3 separate regions of the Homo sapiens genome follow, and all the other regions are linked to region 1. Evidence: promoter capture Hi-C in 16 types of primary human blood cells and fetal thymus (Javierre and others, 2016). All regions are on one chromosome and are shown on one strand. Each heading gives the region's core, a stretch centred on a gene start or on the middle of the fragment in contact. The rest is flanking DNA. Distances are from core to core; before and after follow the strand shown. Region 1 has its middle 2.6 kb from the start of TSPAN9. Region 2 holds the start of CCND2 (cyclin D2). Region 3 holds the start of RAD51AP1 (RAD51 associated protein 1).

What was found. Contacts are between HindIII fragments. The CHiCAGO score rates a contact against its expected background, and 5 or more counts as called.
Region 2: a contact is called between the fragment with the promoter of CCND2 here and a fragment that was not itself captured in region 1, in 1 of 17 cell types (fetal thymus). The highest score is 8.4, in fetal thymus.
Region 3: a contact is called between the fragment with the promoter of RAD51AP1 here and a fragment that was not itself captured in region 1, in 1 of 17 cell types (fetal thymus). The highest score is 5.1, in fetal thymus.

What each region holds. Positions count from the first base shown.
Region 1 is chr12:3,073,057-3,076,494 of GRCh38, reverse strand. No RefSeq gene overlaps it. Among named protein-coding and RNA genes, the nearest start is that of TSPAN9, 2.6 kb to the left of the region's middle. RefSeq lists a silencer at 2,827-2,976 and an enhancer at 2,758-3,052. The HindIII fragment of the contact is 2,312 bases long and covers 563-2,874 here.
Region 2 is chr12:4,271,951-4,275,226 of GRCh38, reverse strand. CCND2 (cyclin D2) reads right to left here and starts at 1,465. Exons shown (of 5, transcript NM_001759.4): 1 at 992-1,465. The coding sequence starts at 1,186. All of the region lies in intron 1 of CCND2-AS1 (CCND2 antisense RNA 1), which reads left to right. RefSeq lists silencers at 1,535-1,624, 2,155-2,274, 3,055-3,174, 3,159-3,276. The HindIII fragment of the contact is 5,777 bases long and covers 1-3,276 here.
Region 3 is chr12:4,537,191-4,540,523 of GRCh38, reverse strand. RAD51AP1 (RAD51 associated protein 1) reads right to left here and starts at 1,634. Exons shown (of 9, transcript NM_006479.5): 1 at 1,568-1,634. The coding sequence starts at 1,584. FERRY3 (FERRY endosomal RAB5 effector complex subunit 3) reads left to right here and starts at 2,055. Exons shown (of 14, transcript NM_020374.4): 1 at 2,055-2,115. RefSeq lists enhancers at 1,202-1,810, 1,811-2,420 and a silencer at 2,026-2,075. The HindIII fragment of the contact is 5,379 bases long and covers 1-3,333 here.

The DNA of each region.
Region 1 (3,438 bases), core at 469-2,968:
GGCGAAGTTTTTGATTTTTTTTGTACAGACGGTGGTCTCCCTGGGCCCAAGCTGGTCTCAAACTCCCGGGCTCAAGCCATCCTCCTGCCTCTGCCTCCCAAAGTGCTGGGATTATAGGCCCGGATTCTTAAAGCTAGAAGGCCTAAACTTGTTTCCAAAGAGCACTAAAACGCCATCTCTTCTCATCATTACTGTCATCAAAAATGTCTTCTAGGCCAGGTGTGGTGGCTCACGCGTGTAATCCCAGGACTTTGGGGGGCCCAGGTGGAAGGATTGCTTGAGCTCAGGAACTCAGGAATTCAAGAACAGCCTGGGCAACATAGGGAAACCCCATCTCAAAAAAAAAATGTTTTAATTAACCGGGTGTGGTGGCACACCCCTGTAGTCCCAGCTGCTCCGGAGGCTGAGGCTCAGGCGTTGGAGGCTGCAGTAAACTAGGATCATGCCACTGTACTCCAGCCTGGGCAGTAGAGGGAGACCCTGTCTTTAAAAGTGAAATTTTTTTAAATTTTAAAGAAACTGTATGCTGTGCTTCCCACGTGCCCTACCATTGCACTAAGCTTGACTGGGGACAAGTTTTTAAAACCTGGCTATAATCACTAGGGTCACTTTTGCTTTCTGCTAATTAGACTGGAAGTTTCCACTCATCTTCTGGGCCCCTTTCCGTCACACACATGCAACCTTGTTTTTGTCTATTAGACTAAACCCATAACCCATTTCCTTCTGATCTCCCTTTCCCCACAAGGAAAATATTCTCCTTCTACATTTTGCTTCATCCAAAGCCCTGTTCAATGCCCCTATAACAAAGTCTTCCCAAGGAACCCCCACCAGCCCCAATCTCTCCAGTCACTGCGGCAGAGTTGGGTACATGTACCCAGAAAAGGAAACTGGGTCTCAGACAGGGAAAGAGATATACTAGGATTGTCTGCCAGCAAGCCAACTCACTGGCAGACCATTGGACGCAGCCTGGTGAGGGAGTAGCCGCAGGGCTTGGGAGCCAGACACACCTGTCTGAATCCTGGCTCTGCTTTTATCGGCTGGGACCTCTTCAGGCCTGTTTTCTCACCTGTGGAATGGGGCATAAGAATACCAATTATGGGGATGGGCATGGTGGCTCACACCTGTAATCCCAGTACTTAGGGAGGCCGAGGCGGGTGGATTACCTGAGATCAGGAGTTTGAGACCAGCCTGGCCAACATGGTGAAACCCCGTCTCCACTAAAAATACAAAAATTAGCCGGGTGTGGTGGCACATGCCTGTAATCCCAGCTACTCGGAGGGCTGAGGCAGGAGAATTGCTTGAGCCTGGGAGACGGAGGTTGCAGTGAGCCAAGATCGTGCCACTGCACTCCAGCCTGGTCGACAGAGCGAGACTGTCTCAAAAAAAAAAAAAAAAAAAAACCAATTCCACAGGGTTGATGGGCTGACCAAGATGATGGAGTAAAAGCACAACATGTGATGTGTGGTGACTGCTCTACAAATGCTAGCTTCCTCCTGCCCTTTTTGGTTTTTGTTTTGTTTTGTTGTTTTTGAGACAGGGACTTGTTCTGCCACCCAGGCTGGAGGGCAGTGGTGCCATCATGGCTCACTGCAGCCTCCAACTCCTGGACTCAAGGATCCTCCAACCTCAGACTCCTAAGTAGCTGGGACCACACGTGCATGCCACCATACCCAGCTAATTGGGGTTTTTGTTTGTTTTGTTTTTGTTTTTGTTTTCGTTTTCGTTTTGTTTTGTAGAGACAGAGGCCTCACTATGTTGCTCAAGCTAGTTTTGAACTCCTGGCCTCAAGCAATCCTCCCACCTTGGCCTCCCAAAGTCCTCCTGCCCTTTAAAAAAAGATAGGCGGAGCACAGTGGCTCACACCTGTCATCCCAGCACTTTGGGAGGCCAAGGCAGGTGGATCACTCAAGCCCAGGAGTTCGAGACCAGCCTGGCCAACATGGCAAAACCCCATCTCTACTAAAAATACAAAAATTAGCCAGGTGTGCATGGGCGTGGTGGCACATGCCTGTACGGGAGGCTGAGGTGAGAGGATTGCTTGAGCCCAGGAGGTCAAGGCTGCAGTGAACCATGATTATACCACTGCTCTCCAGCCTGGGTGACAGAGTGAGACTCTGTCTCAAATTAATTAATTAATTAGAGCAAATCTGAAATAATGGAATTCTGAAGTCTTAGAGATAGATGAAATCTTAGAAGAAATCCCTCAGCAATAGCCCAGAAAATGGCTTCACTGCTCACTCTCCTTCACCACATTCAGAGGTGAATGCCTCAGTGCCTCTGAGGGGCTGACAGTTGGAAGGAAGCTCTGAAGAAAAGCTGTAGAGGAGATGGGATTATTCAGCATAAAGGACACAAAGGTGACTAGTGGTCTGTGAAGCAGACACACTGATAGTGTCCACTGAGGACTAAACGCAAGTAAACCTGACAATGACGCACCACCCTCTTGGGGAAGGGACTTACAAACGCATGAAGTCACTGCTTATCATACCAGGCTTCTGAGGAAATGTCATTGCATTTCCCTTCTGGAGGAGATTCTGAAAAATGCTGAGGTTAGATATAGGTAGGGTGACTGTATCCAGGTTTCGGGGGCACATCCTACTTACTCCTCTTGTCCTGGCATAGTTCCTAAGTCCCCTTTCACTCTCGAAATATCCTGGCGTGGATGATAAATTATATGCCATTTTAACTGTGAACAAAGGCAGGACTCCAAACAGCTCCTTCCAGGCCTGGATGTCAGCAACTCTGCTGGAATTTCTGGATCCCCAGGGACTTCAAAGGATAGCATGTCAGTTTATCCCCTTGAAATCACCAAATCAAATCAAAAATGACAATAGGCTAAAATTAAAGTCCCAGCCAACCACCCCAAGTCAAGCTTCAGGACTGTGCCTGCTGAATTGCGACACCTAGTGGCGAAAGTGCACGCTGCCGGAGCGGGGTTCCGCCAACACTTCACATTCGGCCATAGGTTTCAAGTGACTTGCAAAGCAGCTAACAGCTAACATGTACTGTTTATGTGCCAGGCACAGTTCTAAGTACTTTACATGTTCTAACCCACTGATCCTCACAACAACACCATGAGGTAGGTAGTAGCATCACCATCCCGACATTTTTACAGATGAGGAAACTGAGGCTGAGACAGGTTAAGTAATTTCTCCAAGGTCATTTCACCAGCAATTGACTAAGCTAGGATATAACCCCAGGTTGTCTGGCTGGAGGGCCTGCACAGTTAACTACTGCTCCATCCAGAGTGTAATGCACAAAGTTACTTCGGAGGAATCTTCCACCTGAAGAGACTTCCACCACCCCTCTGACATGGAGATGACCTGAGGGTAGAGTGAGAGGTAGAATGTATGAAGAGTTCCACTCTCGGCCAGGCGCAGTGGCTTATGCCTATAATCCCAGCACTTCGGGAGGCTGAGGTGGGTGAATCCCCTGAGG
Region 2 (3,276 bases), core at 216-2,715, 1.2 Mb before region 1:
GTGTCCGGCTGCGGCCCACAAGGACAGAAACTAGGGAACGCGGTGACGAGCGAGGGGAAAGACGGGAGCAGAGAGCCCTGGAAAGAGGCACGGGGGGCTCCCACCTCTCCTTCAGGGGTGACCCGGTATCCCCCCTACACACACCCCCTCCCCCCCTTCCTACCCCACCCAAATCTCCGCACCGAGGAAGCTGGAAAACCAAACTGTAAGTAATCTTCGTGAGGTGGGGGGTGGGGGAGAGGGCACGATTAGAAGTGGGGTGGCCGGGATAATGGGGTGCGAGGGTAAGCGGGCGACGTTTCCCAGCCTTTCCAAAGGGAGTTTGCAAAGCAACATGGCGAAACCACGGCAGGTCCAGAGCTGTGCATACGTGGGCACACGGCTCGCTGGGCAAAGACTTGGAGTGAGGGGCAAGAAGCGGTTCTTTTGGGTTCCCCTGAAACACGCGTTTCTTCAATGGGACTTCCGGGGCTCCCGAATTCCCCGTTTCTCTCCTTCTCCCTCCTCCCTCCACCTCCCCGGTGAAGTGCCAGCGCGGAGTCGCGACCACAGGCGGGGACCTGAGGCCAAGACGAATTTGCTCTGGCCTTTTGGGGGGGGTTGCCTTTCTACTCGGGGTCCCGATTTCAGGCCCCGACTCTCTTCCTGGCCGCAGCGCAAGCAGCCGCGGCGGCTTCGCAAAAGACAGGTCGCGAGGGGGGTGGGAAGAAGAGGCAGCCACATGCAGGAACACGCGCGCGGGATGCTCCCCTACCCCCGCCCAGGACAGCCTCGCTTCTCCCAGATTTTCCTCCCCCCTCTGCCTCCCCAGTTTATCTGGAGAGGAACAGAAATAAAGCCACGCGTCTCGCCAGAAGGCGCGCGGTAAACTCCCGCACAGGAGCCGGGAGGCCGGCGCGGGGATTGCCCTCTCCCAGGTTTAGGGCTCCGGCCGGGGACCCGAGCATCCGGAGGGGTCCTGGCTCCTGGCGAGCGCCACCCCCCGACCTACCTCCAGCATCCAGGTGGCCACCATTCTGCGCATGTAGGGTTGGATGTCCTTCTGCACGCACTTGAAGTAGGAGCACTGCGGAAGGTAGCGCTCCTCGATGGTGAGCAGGTTCTGCAGGACGCGGTCGTCTCGGAGCAGGTTGCGGTCCCGCACGGCCCTGCGGACCGGGTCCACCTCGTGGCACAGCAGCTCCATGGCCAGCCCGGCGGCCCCTCTCCCTCCTGCTTTCCCCGGCCTGGAAAAAGGTTTTTCTGTTTTTGTTTTTTGGAAGGGGAGGGGAGAGCGTTCCCCTGACCTCCTTCCTTTGGCTAAATAGGGGGTTTTCGGGGGAGAGGTGAGGGCAGAGAGAGAAGGTGGAGCAGAAGGGAGGCGAGGATTGGGTGGTGGGCGAGCAGAGCCTCGGGGCTGCCTCACTCGCACCGGTCCTCCCCTTAAAACTGGTCTCGCTCTCCCCTGCTCGCTCTTCTCCGCTCTGAAGCGGTGACGCAAGCTGGCTGGGCAGTTAGCTCTCCTCCCTCTCCCCGCGCTCCCCGCTCTGGTTCCTCCTCCCCTTTCCTCCCCTCCCGGTCCTCCCCTCCTCCTTTCAATCTCTCCCTCCCTCCCTCCTTTTCCCCTCTCGTTATTAAGGAGAACAGCAGCTGGCCCGACCCAACTTCAAACGCGGTCCCCCGCCACCCCCCACCCCTCTCCCTCCATCCAGCCCTGCATGCCAGGGGCCCCGGACAGGGCAACCCACAAAAAACTACCGACTCCTATTTCTGCCCTCTAATTTCACTCATTCTGTAGGTGTAGCACGCCAAAATACGACCCTCCAACTTTGGCTTCTTCAAAACGGATCCTAATCCTCCTGCCCTTGTATTTAAGATCCAGGAATGTAGGGTAGATTATCTGAAGATGGGGTGACCTCAGACAATTTAGAAATAGGTCCCTTAAGTGAAAAATAAGGGAGGGGGTGATTTTAGAAAATAGCAACCTCGCATACCCAGAGATAAAGGTCATGTCCCTGAAGTCTGTGTTCCTGATAACTTCGAAGCTGTTTCGAAAGCCCCGATTAAAGGGACCAGAACAACGTCCCTTCTGCCCCCCCCTGCAGAGTGTGTGCAGAGGAAGAAGAGGGAGGGAGAGGTGGGTATTAGGAAGGAAGGGGGGTGCTTCTCTGGAGGGATAGAATGTGATCCTCGAGCAGAAACCATCGTGTTTCTGGGGGCTCTTCGGGCGCCGTGGGGCGACGCGGTGCAGCGTCTAGGGCCGCCGCAGGCCGGGGGCAGGGCTCCCAGCGGTTCCCCCGCGGCCAGCGGCCACGCAGGAAAAACCCGCTTCCTCGCCCCTGCATCTGCTGACAAGCCGCCCGAGGTGTCTGCGCTGAGCGTGGCCACACCGATGCAGCTTTCTAGGAAATGGCCCGGGAGGGGGAGGGGGCGAGTGAGGGATTAGGTCCGGCTCCCCCTCGCTCCCCCTGCGCAAACACCACCACCCCTTCCTTTCCCCGGAGGCATGAGGCCTCCACGCTCGGTCCTTCGCCCGCATCCTCGCCGACCCCTCCGGTTTCGCGCCTCACTCGCCAGGCTTTCTCCCTGGGAGCCGACTGCGGTGAAGTCGCCGCCAGCACGGTCGGCCCTGACACGTGCTCTAACGCATGCTTGAGTCAAGGCTGTCTTTACAGGAGATACGATCTGGTGGCGTTTCTTCACCTCCTTCCTCCCGTCACCCCCCACCCCCACCGCGCCCTTTGGTGTATTTCACTCCAGGAGGAAGGGGAGAGACCAGCGCCCTGATGTGCTGGCCAAGCTGGCACGTGCAGCGGGCATGGCGTGGCTCGAGCTCTCTGGGCACACCGAGGCCGACTGAGTGCCTCCCTCACCGAGAGAGGGGGCCCGGGCAGGGGCGCGGAGAGCCAGCAAGGCGGGGTGGGGCGCGGGCTGGGTGAGCCGTACACTAGGTTCCCTGCAAGGCGGAGGAGGGGAGCGAATAAACTAGAGGTGCAAGCGATTAACTCAGGCCCCGGAGCCAGCCTCTTTAAACGAGGGTGGGGCGGAAGGGGTGGTGGGGGGGAAAGGAGGGGATATCGCTTTAAAAGGGTGAGGAAGAGTTTGGGGCGCCGTCTCCCCTCCCTCTATTTGCATAGCCAATAGCTCTGGGGCTCCTGCTACTGCGCGCTGATTGTTACCGGGCAGATTACTTTTTTTTTTTTTTTTTTTTTTTTTTTTTAGTAGGACGCGTTCCCCACTACATCAAAAGGAAGCCAAGGGAGGGCGGAGGGAGAGCGGGCGCTGGGGCGGGCGAAA
Region 3 (3,333 bases), core at 385-2,884, 1.5 Mb before region 1:
AAGACTAGTAGTACAATTTAGTGCCACTGCCTTAATTGTTCTGAGGTGCCAGCAGTTTTATCGGGGTCACTGCAGTGCAAATGACAAAGCAGCGAAAAAGGCAAATCATATCTTAGTATTGTTATGAAAGGAGTTTTGACCTCATAGACCTCTAGAGAAGTTTCCAGGGACCCACAGAGGTCTGTAGACCATACTTTAACAACTGCTGTTCCTTACAAAGGGATTATGACTCCACTGCCTGGATGCTTAAAACCCATTTCAAATTCAGCATGTTCGAAACAGAAATCTTGATCCCTCACACCTCCTAACCTTCCTTTTCCTAGTCTTCCCTATCTTAATACAAAGATCATCCATCCTGTAGCTCAGACCAAAACTATTGTGGAGTCATCTCTGATTCTTTCTTTCCCTTACCTGTACATCTACTTCATCAGCAAGTTCTGTCCACAGTGCCTCCGAAATACATCCCAAATTCATCTGTTCCATTCCATGCCCACTAATAATACCCTATCCCAAACCGCTCTCCAATGATATAATACCTGATTTTCCTGCTCCCGTTCTGGTCACCCTATCCATCATTTATTCTCCACCAACAGCCAGTGACCTTTATAAAAGCAAACTTAGATTCCTCTCCCCTACTTAAAACCCTCCACTGACTTCCCATTGACTTAAAATAAAACCTAAACTCCTTTCTAAGACTTACAAGACCCTATCTGTTCTGGCACCTGCCTATTTCTCTGGCCTAATCCCCCTACGATTCTCCCCACTGCTTGTTAATCCTATAGCATTAGACTGTCCCTAAAATATGGTCAAGTATGGGGCCTTGGCTCCTATTCCCTCTACCCTGATTCATGACTCAGTGCATGCATTATCGCCTCAGAGTCACATATTAACTACTATATTTAAAGTAGTGCTTTCCTCTTTCGCACTCTCATATTTCGAGGCTTATTTTCGGCCCCCTAACCTCACCTCCCACTGGAATGTAACCTCCAGCACCTCGTACACTAAAGAAGTGAATATATTCAATAACTTTATTAAATGAATGGCTAACTATAGGCTTCCATGGCACTCAACTGTGTAAATAGAAGAATCGTTTCTAATACCACGATGGAAAGCACAGAGGATCTTGAGTGAGATGACTTAGGTTTGAGTATTGCCCTGCCACTTACTGGGCTGTATGACTCAGATAACTTACCCTCTATACGTAGAAATGTTAAATCAATACAACAGGAATGCTTACTCTTTCTATATCAAATAACTACAGTGATAAACAAATAAAATAACACATAATTGGGCGCTCGGTGAAATGTAAAGCGCTGTTCAAACGCTAACAAGGTCTTGGTAAAAGAAACGGCGACGGTTGTGAAGGGAGGCAAAGAGAAGGAAAAAGCTACGATGCTAGGATACTTCTGAGCAACGGGTGGCTCTCACTGGAGACTGGGTTCTTGATAACCGTCCATCCTAACCCCACCATCGCTGCCCTCCGGTCTTACTCGATCCTTTCCCCTTAGTCTCATGTCTTTTCCCTTAGTTTTCCTCCCACCCCCGACGAATGTCAGGAACTACCCACCTCACAGGCCGCACCATGGTCCCTTTCAAGGCTTGGTATTTACAGTTCTCAAATTCTTGTTGGCTTCAGCGGCGGTTTCAATTCCCGCCCAAAACCAGACTTCGGAGCCCTCCGCCCCCTGTTACCAGTCGTCCAATCATCACCAGCCATGCTTGCGGCGGCGCACGCGCTGTGGGGAAAGCGAATTTGCTCCCGCCCTCCCCAAGGCACCGCTTTTCCGTATCCGGTCCACCAGAGCCGAGTTTGTGCTTTGTCCCTGCACTTTCGTCACAACGGCGGATTTGCCCTGTCTCTGAAATACAGAATAACAATAGAAATACACCTTATTGCACCTTTCAAATTGTTAAATTGAAACAGGTTGGGACATAGGGGCACTTGGACTGAGAAATTTTCTACAAGATGCCAGGAAATAGAAAAGGATGTGGCGAATCTACGTTCGCGGATCCGCGGTGTGGAAAAAGTATGTCGGCAAGTCAGCTGGTTTCCCAGTGCAGGACGCGCTGACAGCTCGAGTGAGCGGACTGCCCAGGACTTCGGAACTAGACGAGGTGAGCCCAGAACCGAGTGAGGATGCCCTTTCAGACTGACAACCGTTACAGAGGGATTAGTCCCCTCACCCGGCTGAAGTTTCTCAGCTCGACCGTCTGTCTTCCTTTTCCCTGATTAATGTGAGCCTCAGAGCCTCCGCTCTGTTGGCTGTGTGTGTTCGGTCCAGACCTTCCATCCCATTTTCTTATGGGAAACCTTCCTGGATTTCACGGTTGCTAAAACTGAACCCAGGCTTCAGGATAGACCATTAGTCTAAAAAAAGAGCGAGAGGAGAAAGAACTAAAGTTATCAGTTTCTTGAAACACAAGTCTAAATGTTGAACCAGAGCTTTTGTGTCTGCCTTCTCTTTTTTTTTTCAACATTCCTGATTCATTCATATTTTTGCATTTATCAGTGGTTGATTCTTTTTTATTGCTGTGTAGTATTTATCTCATAAAATAAACAAGTTTACTATTCTCCTACTAATACGCATTTTGGTTGTTTCCAGTTTGGGGTATTATAAATAAAACTTATATGAGCATTCTTCTGGGTGTACTTTAGCGAACATATGCGTGTGTGTGTATTTGGATATATACTTAGGAATGAAATTTCTACATCATAGAATATACCTTTATGTAGTTTTGGTAGTTTTCTAACATTATAAAAATTTGTATTGCTTTACGTTTAATTTTAATTCTTTCTGAGTAAAACAAATACCCTATCTCTTTGCATTATGGTGAAATAGACGAAGATTTTTGTGTATAGCCTACATACAGATTTGAAAATATAGTCTGGATAATTCAACTTAGCCCCGCCCCACGACATGTACAAAAGTCCTTTGAGTTTTTTTTATATTTCAGGTGATATCTTTTTAAATAACCGTATGAATAATTTTTTGTTCTTTATTTTTCCAGTGAGCACCATAAAATAAAAACGCCATACAATCCAACAATTATTTATTAGTTCTTGCCATTCGCAACATCCTGCCTAATACATGGAATACAAGACAGTATTCCTTCCACTTCAAGAAGACTGTTTTCTAGCCAAGAGTAAGAAATAGAGCGTGATAAGTGCCATGATTCAAATAAGTCTAGGCTAATATGAGAGCCTGTCGGGACCCAATCCAGTTTTAGGGAGTTGGATAAGTCTTCCTAGAGGCTTAACTGAGACCTGAAGAATTAGCAATTGTTATCCAATGAAATTAAGATCAGTAAGAGTGCTCTAGGCAAAGGAAAAGG